3 separate regions of the Homo sapiens genome follow, and all the other regions are linked to region 2. Evidence: promoter capture Hi-C in 16 types of primary human blood cells and fetal thymus (Javierre and others, 2016). All regions are on one chromosome and are shown on one strand. Each heading gives the region's core, a stretch centred on a gene start or on the middle of the fragment in contact. The rest is flanking DNA. Distances are from core to core; before and after follow the strand shown. Region 1 overlaps RPRD1B (regulation of nuclear pre-mRNA domain containing 1B). Region 2 holds the start of VSTM2L (V-set and transmembrane domain containing 2 like). Region 3 overlaps RPRD1B (regulation of nuclear pre-mRNA domain containing 1B).

Region 1 (4,061 bases), core at 1,005-3,504, 170 kb after region 2:
CTAATAATAATTTGATCAGATGCTTATTAAAATTGTGAGAGTTATCAAATCATGGACAGTTTCTGAAACTGTAATGCCTTCAGCAGGTCTCCCAAAGTTTGCTAGACTGTATACTCTTTGAGTGCTCTCACAGTGCCAGGAACATATTTGTTCCTCAGTAAATACTTGTTCTGTGAAATCCATCACTTGATGTAACCTTTTTCTATAGAGAAAAGGGTTTTTTTTTAAGGTTGCATTAAAAGTGGCTTAACAAATCTGATTTAATGATTGGTTGTAAAGAATATGTTAGTACGGAAAGGTAACCATTTTTAGAAGTTTCTGTAGGTTTTCTCCTTTGTACTACTTTTCTTTTTTCCTTTAAGTAGAATTATGCTTTATTCTGAGATAATCATCTTTTTTTGTTTGTTTGTTTTTGACTTTTGCTTCAGGGTGTCATGATTGACTTTGGCCTATGATGTTGGCCCTTAAACACCAGGCAAGGGTGGAAGGAATGCTGCTGAAAATCTGTGGGTAATGTTTTTGTCATGAACATGAGAAAACCTAGAAATGGAGAAGGCACGTGGAAGGAAGCACAAATGGCAGCCCAAAGAGGAGGTTAGAGAATGTGGAGGGTATAGAAGAAAGCCCATTCAGAAAGGCAAAGGCCAAAGATACCAGAAAAGCCTTCCAGCTTCACTTCCAGAGCAAAGAGAAGCTTTGTTTGTGGTTGACAGAGGTGACTACATTACTCCCAGATGTCTGCTCAAAGCTCATAAGACATAGCGTGAGTGGGTTGGATAGGGTTCCTGTCTTGTCAGCGTGAATAAAGCATGATACAGACATGTTCTGTTAGCATGATCAGTGCATGTGGAAGAGTGTGTGTGTGAGAAAGAAACCTATTTGTACAAGTATTAAGGAAAGAAAAAAGGTCAGGAACCTGCAGTTTTCCCTTCTTAACTGTGATTTTTTTTTTTTTTTTTTTGAGACAGACTCTTGCTCTGTTGCCCAGGGCTAGAGTGCAGTAGAGCAATCTGAGCTCACTGCCTCCCGGGTTCAAGCGATTCTCGTGCCTCAGCCTCCCGAGTAGCTGGGACTACAGGCGCATGCCACCACACCCAGCTAATTTTTGTATTTTTAGTAGAGATGGGGTTTTGCCATGTTGGGCAGGCTGGTCTCGAACTCCTGATCTCAGGTGATCCACCTGCCTTGGCCTCCCAAAGTGTTGGAATTACAGGCATGCGCCTCCATGCCTGGCCTTAACTGTGAATTTTATTCAGATCATGGTGTCTGACTGTCAGCGATCTAGAACTGAAAGCAGATAGTCCTGTGTTGACCCACATGCCACATGGTGCACACACACAAAGATGATATGCCACACAGGGAAGAGCTCTTGAGAAATTTGTTCCAAGCTGCAGATTTATTGTTTTAGTTGAGGTGAAATTCATATAACGTAAATTAACCATGCACTTCAAAGTGCACACATTTTGGTGGCATTTAGTACGTTCACAGTATTGTATCAAGTTCCAAAACATAATTGTGTCTGGCTTCTTTCGGCACGATGTTTTCAAGATTCATCCCATGTTGTAGCATATATCAGTACTTCATCTCTTTTATGGTAGAACACTAATCTGTTGTATGGATGTGACACAGTTTATAACCTGTCTATGGACATTTGAGTTGTTGCCACCTTTTGGCTCTTATGAATAGTGTTGCTATAAACAGTCATGTGGAGGTTTTTGTGTGGCCATATCTTTTCATTTCTCTTGGTTATGTATAAATCTAGGAGTGGAATTGCTGGGTCATATGGTAATTCTATGTAACATTTTGAGGAACCATCAGACTGTTTTCCACAGCAGCTACATCATTTTACATCCCCACTAGCAATGTGCGTGGGTTCCAGTTTCTCCACATCCTCATCAACATTTGTTATTGTCTCTTTATTTTCGACAACCTACATGTGCAGGTTTATCTCATTGTGATTTTGATTTGCATTTTGCTAATTACTAACGATACTGATCATCTTTCAGTATGCTTGTCGGCTGTTTATCTTTGGAGAAATGTGTGTTCAATTCCTTTGCCCATTTTCAAATTGGGTTATTTGCTTTTTTTGAGTTGTAAAAGTTCTTTATATATTGTGGATAATATACCTTTATCACATAAATGATTTGCAACTATTTTCTCCTATAAGTTGTCTTTTCACTTTCTAGGTAATATCCTTTGATGTGCAAAAGTTTTTTATTTTTATGAGTTCCAATTTATCTATTTTTGTGGTTGTTGCTCATGCTTTTGGTGTCACATGTAATAATCTGTTGCCAATCCCAGGTCATGACAATTTTTTTCTGTGTTTTCTTCTAGAAGTTTTATAATTTTATGTCTTAAATTTACGTTCTTAATCTGTTTTGAGTTAGTTTTTGTATGTGGTGTGATGTAGGGGGGGACCAACTTCATTCTTTTGCCTGTAGATATCCATTTGTCCCAGCACCATTTGTTGAAGAGACTACTCTTTTCCTCCACCTGAATGCCCAGCACCCTTGTCAAAAATCAATTGGCCACAGATGTATTGGTTTATTTCTGGATTCTCAATTCTATTCCATTAATGTATATGTCTATCCTATGCTCATACCACACTATCTCCATCACTGTAGTTTTGTAGTAAGTTTTAAAATCAGTAAGTATGAGTCCTCAGAGTTCTTTTTCAGTATTGTTTTGGCTATTTAGGATCGCTTGCAATTCCCTATGAATTTAACAATCACCTTTTCCATTTCTGCAAAAAAGGTAATTGAAGTTTTACTAGGGAATGCATTGAGTCTGCGGGTCACTTTGGGGAGTATTGCGATTTTAGCAGTCTTAAGTGTTTCAGCTCATGAACAGGGGATGTCTTCACATTTATTTAAGTCTTCAATTTCTGCTGCAGAATTTTAAAAAGCACTCTAGGAGAGTGTCATTTACTGATGCATTTGATATTATAAAGGCCCTGTCTAGGTTTTGGGACCACAGATGGAGGGCAGTGGTATCACCTTTCAATAATGTTAACCCCCACCTCTAGAAGATATGAGTATTTTGTGTATGGACTCAATGGAGTCACCAGGGCACAGTCACAACAGCAGCTTTACAAAGTAAAGTGACACATAGAGGCCTGGATATCTAAGTAAAGTGATTAGCAGGATTATTGAGCTGGACAGAACCTTAGAGATCATATAATCAGACTTCTGAATTGGTGAAGAAACCTAGAGAGAGAGGTAGCTGCAGACCAGCATAGAGTCCAAGGCAGACATCTGGTAACTTCATCAGATTTGTACTTTTGTTTTGATTTCAGAATTTTGATTCTGCAACATCAACAGCAGGAAGACATCTTACACAGAATAGTAGCCAAAGTTTAATCATTTAAACAGTTCCCAAGAATCTTGTTGTAGAGAAATGACATTTTATGTGGGGTCATAAAATGATTGCATGAAAGCATTCTAAGTGTGAAAGAACCTACTCTGCCACCAAGGTTCTAAGTACCTGCCTCGCTGTACCCCTGCTCACGCTCTTGCTCTGATAGGAGGGGAGAAATTGGCTCATGAACTTAAAGCTGCTGGTGTTTCTCCTCGCTTGGCACCTCCCCCTTGGCTGTAATGACTACTCAGGAGTAGAGCCTCTGACTTCAGACAACACAGCTGGGAAGGGGGAAATGGTTCAGAATCCAACATTGCCTTATGACTCTTCATATTTCTGTTTGATTGTGGTTATAACAACTTGAGAAATTCTTTGGCTACAGTTGAAGGGGTGCTCAACCAAAATGATGGCAGATTGTTGTTTTTGGCAGCACCTCCCTGCAGGGTGCAGATGGTTAGAAGCTTTTGTTTCAATATTAGGCCAGGCAGTAGGGGGAGATAGAGAGCTCCTTTTTTGTCAACTTTGGAGTAAATTCGTCTTTCCTATGATGATCAAAGCCAGTATCTCAGTGTCCTATCATGGTAAGGACAGATGGGAGCCGGTGATCTAATTGTCATTTTAGGTAAGAGCCCTTGGGTTTATGTGAACACTTCAGGGTCACAGAGGAAGCCAGTGAGGACCAGTACCTGGATCTTCTGACTCCT
Region 2 (3,753 bases), core at 488-2,987:
GCCCCTTCCTCCAAGGCATGTGGTCCAGAAGGTTCGGGGGGTGGGGGAAGCGGTCGACGCTTGGGACCTGTCCTCGGTACTGAAGGGAGCGCGGGGGCTGTGGACGGTGCTAGAACACAGTGCTTGTAAGTGCGGGACATCGTGGAGGAGGTGTCCTTAGTTTGGAAGGAGCTGGATTGTTGCTGGCTACCACGGGCCCCATCCGGTGTGCTACCCCCCCCCCATAATACTGGAAGGGGGGCGCTAAGACAGAGGGAAGACGGCGAGGGGCTATGTTCCTTGGTCTCTAACCTTGTTCTCAAACTTGGGCGCTGTACACACGGCTGGACGCGGGATCCACCTGTGTTCTGGAGTGGGGAGTGGGCTGTCGGAGGGGTTGACCCTGTTCGACGGGGACGGGGAAGAAAGTCTGAGGGTCTGTCCACGGTGTGAACCCTAGCATCAAAGGGCCAGTTGAGACGCTGTCCACGGTGCCCAAAGGATGGGCCCGGGTGGGGCGGGGGGCGGGGGGCGGGGGGGGGGCTGGCGCTGTCCTCCTCCGTGGTGCTGAAACCGGGAGGACCAGGCTGTGTGAGCAGGGAGGCCTGGGGAAGGGCAAGGGATGAGAGCAGGAGGGACCCCGCCCAGGAGTCAGGGGCCTCGCCCGACTCGCCGTGGGACCTCAGAGAAGCTAATTACCTGATTTCAGGCGCTTCCTTATCTTTTAAATGGGACCACAGTTCCGCCCTCCTGTCTGTCCCATCAGCCCCAGTAACACGGCTTGGGAAGGAACTGGAGGACTTTGTTGGATTCTTGCTCTTGGGAATGGGAATGGTGCCCTATCCCCCTCCCCTGCCACACTCACACACACATACACCCACGCATACGCGCGCGCACACGCACACGCACACACACACTCATGCACACACACACCATCAAGGCTCATTGGTCTAGGGAAGGAGCCTACAGTCCAGAAGGGGGCGATCCCATCCACCACATAAGGTCCAGTATCTTCAAGAGCCAGGAGCCGCAACAACTAACTGGCCTGTCTCTCTCCCATTACAAAGACTCGAAAACTGAGTCCCAGAAAGGGGAACACCGACAATAATAACTACTGAGCTCCTACCACGTAGGCAGCATTATGCTAAGCGCTTTGCATGCACGATTTCGCAAATCCTCACCAGGACCCCCGCAGACAGCTATTACCCCTATTTCTCAGATGAAGACTTCGAGGTTCAGAGAGGGGTAGACACCCGGACGCGATCACACAGCGAGCCGAGGTCGGCGGCAGAGCTATCACCAGGTCCCCTGGGTCTCAGCCCAGGCTCCCACCCTACCTCGCCCTCACCCCCAGCCCCACTGGCCCCTGACCCCGGCCCCGCCCTGCCGGTAAAGTTAGGAGCCTCTGAGTGCGCTGGCCTGGCGGCGGGTGCCCTGGCTTTTCTCCCTCTCCCCGCTGGACGGCATTTCTGTGGCTGAAGCCCGTTGGGTCGTGCTTTGCGGGAACCGCGTCCCTGGGGTGGCTCTCTCCGCCCCATCCCGGCCCCGCCTCCGCACTCGGGCGGGGGAAAGTTGCGGGTACCGCTTTAAAAATCCCAGCCTGGGCAAAACTTTGATGATAAATCAAGCGGCAGATCCCTCCGCCGCCTGCTCCGAGCGGGAGGAGGGAGGGGAGGAGGGAGGGGAGGAGGGAGGCGGGAGGAGGGAGGAGGGTGCGGCGGCGGCGCGGCGTGGCCTTCCGCGGAAGGGAAGAGTCCCGCAGTCGGAGGCGGCCGGCTGGGCGTGCGCTCGCTCCCCGAAGCCGGGGCTGGGCCGGAGCCGGGCGAGGGCTGGGAGCTGGGCCGGGTCCGGGGACAGCGGGCGAGGGGCAGCTGCCGGAGCCGGGCAGCCAGGCCGCTCAGGGCAGGGGACAGCTGGCGCCGGTTCTGCGGTCTCCGGGGCCCAGATGTGAGGCGGCGGCGCCCCCGGCCCGAGAGCGCACGATGGGGGCCCCGCTCGCCGTAGCGCTGGGCGCCCTCCACTACCTGGCACTTTTCCTGCAACTCGGCGGCGCCACGCGGCCCGCCGGCCACGCGCCCTGGGACAACCACGTCTCCGGCCACGGTGAGTTCGGTCGCCGCCCCCGCGGACTTCCCCACCAAACCCCAACCCGGGCCGCGCCACTCCAACTTGGCCGCCCCGGGGCTCGAACCGGCGCCAGTCGTGGCGGGCATCCCGGGGCGCCCCCTGCCGGCGCGGTGGACCCGCCCTGGCACCCTGGCCCTGCAGAGAAGGGGGCACCCGGGGCGCACCCCCGAACCTCCTCCCCACACACTCGCGCGGATACGCACACCTGCATGGCCACACCGATATGCACAGCCGCGGACACACTCAGAGCCACAGTCGCTGCTTTCTCACACTCACAACTCCTACCCTGCACATCTCCACACACCTCAGGTCCCCCTCCTCACTGCAAGCCTTTACACTTATGCCCACTACACACGCACATCAGGCACTGCGCCGGTGGGCTCACTCTGCCAGCTGGCGCACACGCTTCGCCACAACTCTTGCCTGCCCACCTGCAGACACACTGGTGCGCGCGCGCGCACACACACACAGGCACACACATACACACACATGAACACAATTTGCTCACCCACTCCTCTCTGCCCATCTGCCTTTACTCTTCTGGGTTTAACCGCACAGAGGCCCTTGTCCTCTTCCTCTCCACACCCAGCCCTATACCACTGGAAAGGTCCTTGGGGGCAGAAGACCTTGTTTCTTGAGAACTGGTCGCCTGGGGCTGCAGCCTCCCAGTTGGGCGGGTGGCACCTGGTGGAAGCCCCTCAGAGCCACCGGAGTAGTTGGGGTTGCTGCTTGCAGCCAGAGGCATGGGAGTGGGAGTGGAAGTGGAATGCCGGGTGCTTTTGTCTGCCTCTGGGGATGGGCAGGAAGCCGTGCCATCCTTCCATAGGGTACCCCCATCCTCATCCTCGGCCCTAGAGGACTGAAATGTGGGAAATCTCAACTCCAGCCGCTGTGGAAGCCGGGGAGCAGACAAGCATTCCCAGCACTGGCTGGCTGAGTGTCAGAAGCTCCTGCTAGCCCCGAAGGAGCCCAAGTTGGCAGCAGAGTTGGACTGTATGAGCCCGGCAGCTGTGGGGGCTCCCCCTGACCCCTGTGAGCCTGGCTCTGGGATGGAGGCTCGAGCATAGATGAAACCAAAGGAGACCTTTCTTCCATGCAGCCCTTCACTAGACAGGCTGACAGCCTTGTTGGGGAGGCTGCAGCCCCAGTGCTGGGCACTGTGGGCCCAGGGCTGTGGGGAGGTTTGCACAAAGGCCAGATAATTGGATGATTTATTCTGATGGGAGTGAGTGGGGGTAAGGCAGGGTAGATAATCAGGGAAGGTTTTGCTGGGGTATGACACATGAGTGGGATTGCTCCAGTGGAGAGGGGGGCTTCGAAGCCATCCTCAGGGTCTCTGCTTTTTGGGAACCATGACTCCCCGCCCCCTTCTGCCTCACCATGTTTGGTAGTAACTGCTGTGTGCATCATTTACATACCCTTCATGCCCCTCACCTCATTTCTACCGACCTGGCTAGAGCGGTGGTAAATAAGGAAAGGGTTCTTTTGATCCTCAACTTACAGATAGGGAAACCAAGGCTCAGAGAGGTGAAGGAAGTTGCCCAAGGTCACACAGTAAGAGAGTGACTGAGCCAGGACAGGCCCCAGGGTCTGTCAGGCAAAGACAGCGCTTTTTTCCAGGACATTCATCTCCCTGTCAGATTCCCT
Region 3 (4,287 bases), core at 1,229-3,728, 140 kb after region 2:
ATATAAACAGCGCTATCTAATACAATTTTCTGTGATAATAGCAATGTTTTCTATCTGTGCCATCCAACAGGTAGCCGCTTGGTATATGTGGCTATGGAGCACTTAAAATGTGTGACTAAGGAACTAAAGTTTTAAGTAGATAGAATTGAAAATTTAGTTTCCAGTTTTTACCAGCTGCAATTCAGGTGTTCCAATAGCCACACGTGGCTAGTGGCTAACTTACTGGACAGTGCAGAGTTAAAAAAAGATGCTCTTCCAAGCATCAATACCTAGCTTCCGAATATCCAGGCTTATTTCATGAACTGAAAATGCCCCCACACTGAAAGAAAAGGATTCTGTGCCCTAATGTTCAGATTGATTAGCCCTGTAGGTTCTACCTAGGGTGAAGTCATTTTCCGTAGCTGAGATGCTCACAGACTGTCTCTGAGTTGCCTTCAAAATATATGAGATTTATAAAAATTAACTTTTTTTCTTGCTTAAATACTTCTATTCCTGATGTGTTGTCTTTCCATTTTCTAGGAATAATTTTTAATTTATCCCATTTGAGCTCTGTTCTAAGTAGAACGTCTCCCCTTCTTTATGGACTAGTTTTGGTGTAAAGTGCTCCTAAATGAATGTTTTTAATGGTGTTTTGTATCTTGGCCTGAATGTAGGTAATGGGCTTTTATTGCAGAATTACTTTAAGACTTTCTGTAGATGTCAAAACCAGCCAAACAAGTGAAAAGTTTTGATTAACCAGTTGTTTAAATTTTACTCAACAACTAGTTTGACCAGTTTGGAATGGACATGGGTAGTGAGTGAAAGGACCTATTTCTGTCGTATAGGAAGGACATCTGAACAAGTGAGTTGTCCCCCAGGATTGGGATGGAGGGGTGTGCATGTTGTGTGTATTGTGACTGTGTGTGCTCAAGAGCTCTAGGGTTTTGTCATATCACCTTGACACACATGGTGCTTATGTTGACTGTTGAGGATGTTGAATATGGAGGGATACAGTTTATCCTAAATAAATCCCCATTGTTAAGTTCTGGGGTGATGAAAATTAATTGGCATTGTAAACAGTGAAAACCTTGGGTCTCAAGCCCCTTAGATACCTTGTTTGTCTACTGAGAAGTATATATCAGGTCTTGAATGTCCACACTGACATTTTACAATATGGATTCTAGGTTTTTTTTTTTTCAACATAAAGTGTATGGAATTTTAAAGCTTCACTTAATGAAATTTGCTTTGTTGAAGTTCTGTTTTGCTTTCGAATCTGCTAACTTGCATGGGATTATAGGTGTAGTAGTTTCACTTACATCAACTTTGCAGAGCAAGGTTTGCTTTAACAAAAAAGCACGTTTTGCCATAATCATACCTTTGTAGCAACAGTAGATATTGTAACTACTGACACTTTTGTTCTGCTTTTGAATAATAATTAGAAAGTTGAAGAAAGCTCCAGGTTCCTAGTATTCTTATCAGTTGGCCATCTAAACTAGGTTATTACCAGAAGGTTAAGACAATTCAGGGTATCCATATTTAATTTTATGAGCATTTAAGACATCAGTTTCATCAGTTTAAACTGTAATGTGCTATTAAAATCATGTTTTTAACTTGGGTTACTCTCCTGTAGCTACATTTTTTTTTTTTTTTTTGAGACGGAGTCTCTTACTCTGTCACCCAGGTGGGAGTGCAGTTGGCGCGATCTCGGCTCACTGCAACCTCCGCCTCCCAGGTTCAAGTGATTCGCCTGCCTCAGCCTCCCAAGTAGCTGGGTTTACAGGCGCCTGGCACCACGCCCGGCTGATTTTTTTTGTTTTGTTTTTTTTTTTTTTTTTTTTTTTTGAGACAGAGTCTTGCTCTGTCACCCAGACTGGAGTGCAGTGGTGTGATCTCGGCTCACTGCAAGCTCCGCCTCCTGGGCTCACCCCATTGTCCTGCCTCAGCCTCCTGAGTAGCTGGGACTACAGGCGCCCGCCACCACGCCTGGCTAATTTTTTGTATTTTTAGTAGAGACAAGGTTTCACCATGTTAGCCAGGATGGCCTTGATCTCGTGACCTCAGGTGATCCACCTGCCTTGGCCTCCCGGAGTGCTGGGATTACAGGCGTGAGCCACTGTGCCCAGCCTCCTGTAGCTACATTTTAAAATGTCAGATCTTATGCCTGCTATGTCAGACATATCAATGCTTTGTACATTTCAAAAGAAACAACTGGTTTCAGAGAGAAATAGAGTTACTCAGGTGTGTTAAGGTTGATAAAGAGCTTGTGTTTTTCAGGTACTTTAGCATTGGAGAAAACTTTGTGTTTTGAAACATCTAATTATGTTCTTATTTATTTCTTTTAAAAGAAAATTGGAACCAAAAATTGTAGGGATGTAACTTTATAGTTGAGAAATTATGTGCATAGAAGCCAGGGAATTCAGTAATGTTCCCCAAAGCAACTGTAACTCAGACATATTGCACGAGGTTTTTATGGTTTAATATATGATACCATATAGAGTAATAGGGAATAACCACATTTCATATAAATAAGAGAGAATTATGGTTTTTGTGAAAGCCCTAATTTTGCATATCTAGATTTCACACGTGTGTAAATTTTCAATAAGAGTGTAGTGTTAATGTATACTTGTATTTGAGCTAATATCTATTGGTGCACCTAGAGATTCTTCTATATTATTGATTATGGTTATTGGAGTATCAGAGAAATTCTCAGTTTAGGAGCAAAATTACAAGAAACCTTTTTTTTTTTTTTGAGACGGAGTTTTGCTCTTGTTGCCCAGGCTGGAGTGCAACAGCATGATCTAGGCTCACCACAACCTCTACCTCCCGGATTCAAGCGATTCTCCCACCTCAGCCTCCTGAGTAACTGGGATTACAGGCATGTGCCACCACGCCAGGCAAATTTTGTATTTTTAGTAGAGACGGGGTTTCTCCACGTTGGTCAGGCTGGTCTCAAACTCCCGACCTCAGGTGATCCGTCCATCTCGGCCTCCAAAAGTGCTGGGATGACAGGCATGAGCCACCACGCTCGGCGAAACCATTTTAAAATTGAAACCTAACTCAGTCTTTTTTTTTTTTTTTTGAGACAGAGTCTTGCTCTATTGCCCAAGCTGGAGTACAGTAGTGCAATCTCGGCTCACTGCAACCTCCACCTCCTGGGTTCAAGCGATTCTCCTGCCTCAGCCTCCTGAGTAGCTGGGACTACAGGTGCCCACCATCACACCCGGCTAATTTTTGTATCTTTAGTAGAGGTAGGGTTTCACCATGTTGGCCAGGCTGGTCTCAAACTCCTGACCTCAAATGATCCACCCACCTCGTCCTCCCAGAGTGCTGAGATTACAGGCATGAGCCACTGCGTCCGGCCAACTCAGTCTTTCATTCTGAAATATTTGATAATTAAAAGTGAGTTAGAAGTTGCTCATTTTTGCAGTAGAATAAATAAAAGCCCTAGTTTCAACATTAACACTGACTGCTTATCCTTTAGGAATTCTCTTTGGATTATCTTAATTTTTACTATCAATTAATTACCCTGGTTTAAACAACACAGCAATGAAGATGGCCCATTCTTTTTCTTTTTCTTTTTTTTTTTTCCGAAATGGTATTCCCAAACCTATTCCTTAGGTGGTCTTTTTAAACATATCTACTTGACCCCCCAGGTAGATAATACTTGTCTTAATGTTTTTTTAGGAGCAGCCCAGGGCAAAAGAATTGTGAATTGAGAATTTCTTTGGTGTAAGTTAAATTCTTTTCTTTTCTTTTTTTCAGCCAAATCAAATAGAAAGCTTACTTTTCTGTATTTAGCGAATGATGTCATCCAAAACAGTAAAAGGAAAGGACCTGAATTCACTAGAGAATTTGAATCTGTCCTTGTGGATGCTTTTTCTCATGTTGCCAGGTATGTTGTCTGTTTTTTGGATTTGTTTTTAAATTCATTGCCTTTCCCACCTTTTTGTTCTTTCCTTTTCTGTGATAGCCTTTGTAAATTGACAACTTCCTACTTTACAGAGAGTTGTGGAGGCCGAATTGTGGTTTTATGTTTTGTTGAGCCCTCAAGAACTATCGAGACATGTAAACATTCTGATACATTTGAGAGATTCAGCCTAGCATTATCTTTCTTCTAGATATATTCATTTTCATTTTTTGAATTTATTTCTTGGTTATGGTATTTTCCTTGGTTTGGTTGAGTTGTCTCATCAGCTTATGATCAAAAAACAAAGCTAACTAGTAAGGGAACCTTTTAGTAACATAACTTAATAGCAAGAAATTAATTGCCAAATGCCTTCCTTTTTATTTCCTTCTGGATTTCTAGAT

The links. Contacts are between HindIII fragments. The CHiCAGO score rates a contact against its expected background, and 5 or more counts as called.
Region 1: a contact is called between a fragment that was not itself captured here and the fragment with the promoter of VSTM2L in region 2, in 1 of 17 cell types (endothelial precursors). The highest score is 5.4, in endothelial precursors.
Region 3: a fragment that was not itself captured here is called in contact with the fragment with the promoter of VSTM2L in region 2 in 1 of 17 cell types (endothelial precursors); the score reaches 5.4 in endothelial precursors.

What each region holds. Positions count from the first base shown.
Region 1 is chr20:38,069,797-38,073,857 of GRCh38, forward strand. The region is part of intron 6 of RPRD1B (regulation of nuclear pre-mRNA domain containing 1B); the gene reads left to right. Among named protein-coding and RNA genes, the nearest start is that of RPRD1B, 38 kb to the left of the region's middle. RefSeq lists an enhancer at 3,569-3,678. The HindIII fragment of the contact is 3,124 bases long and covers 693-3,816 here.
Region 2 is chr20:37,901,390-37,905,142 of GRCh38, forward strand. VSTM2L (V-set and transmembrane domain containing 2 like) reads left to right here and starts at 1,738. Exons shown (of 4, transcript NM_080607.3): 1 at 1,738-2,082. The coding sequence starts at 1,962. All of the region lies in intron 2 of LOC124904896 (a long non-coding RNA gene), which reads right to left. RefSeq lists an enhancer at 1,038-2,001. The HindIII fragment of the contact is 14,867 bases long and covers 1-3,753 here.
Region 3 is chr20:38,036,694-38,040,980 of GRCh38, forward strand. It overlaps RPRD1B (regulation of nuclear pre-mRNA domain containing 1B), which reads left to right. Exons shown (of 7, transcript NM_021215.4): 2 at 3,742-3,871. LOC124904898 (a long non-coding RNA gene) reads left to right here. Exons shown (of 2, transcript XR_007067579.1): 2 at 766-1,414. Among named protein-coding and RNA genes, the nearest start is that of RPRD1B, 5.1 kb to the left of the region's middle. The HindIII fragment of the contact is 2,555 bases long and covers 1,202-3,756 here.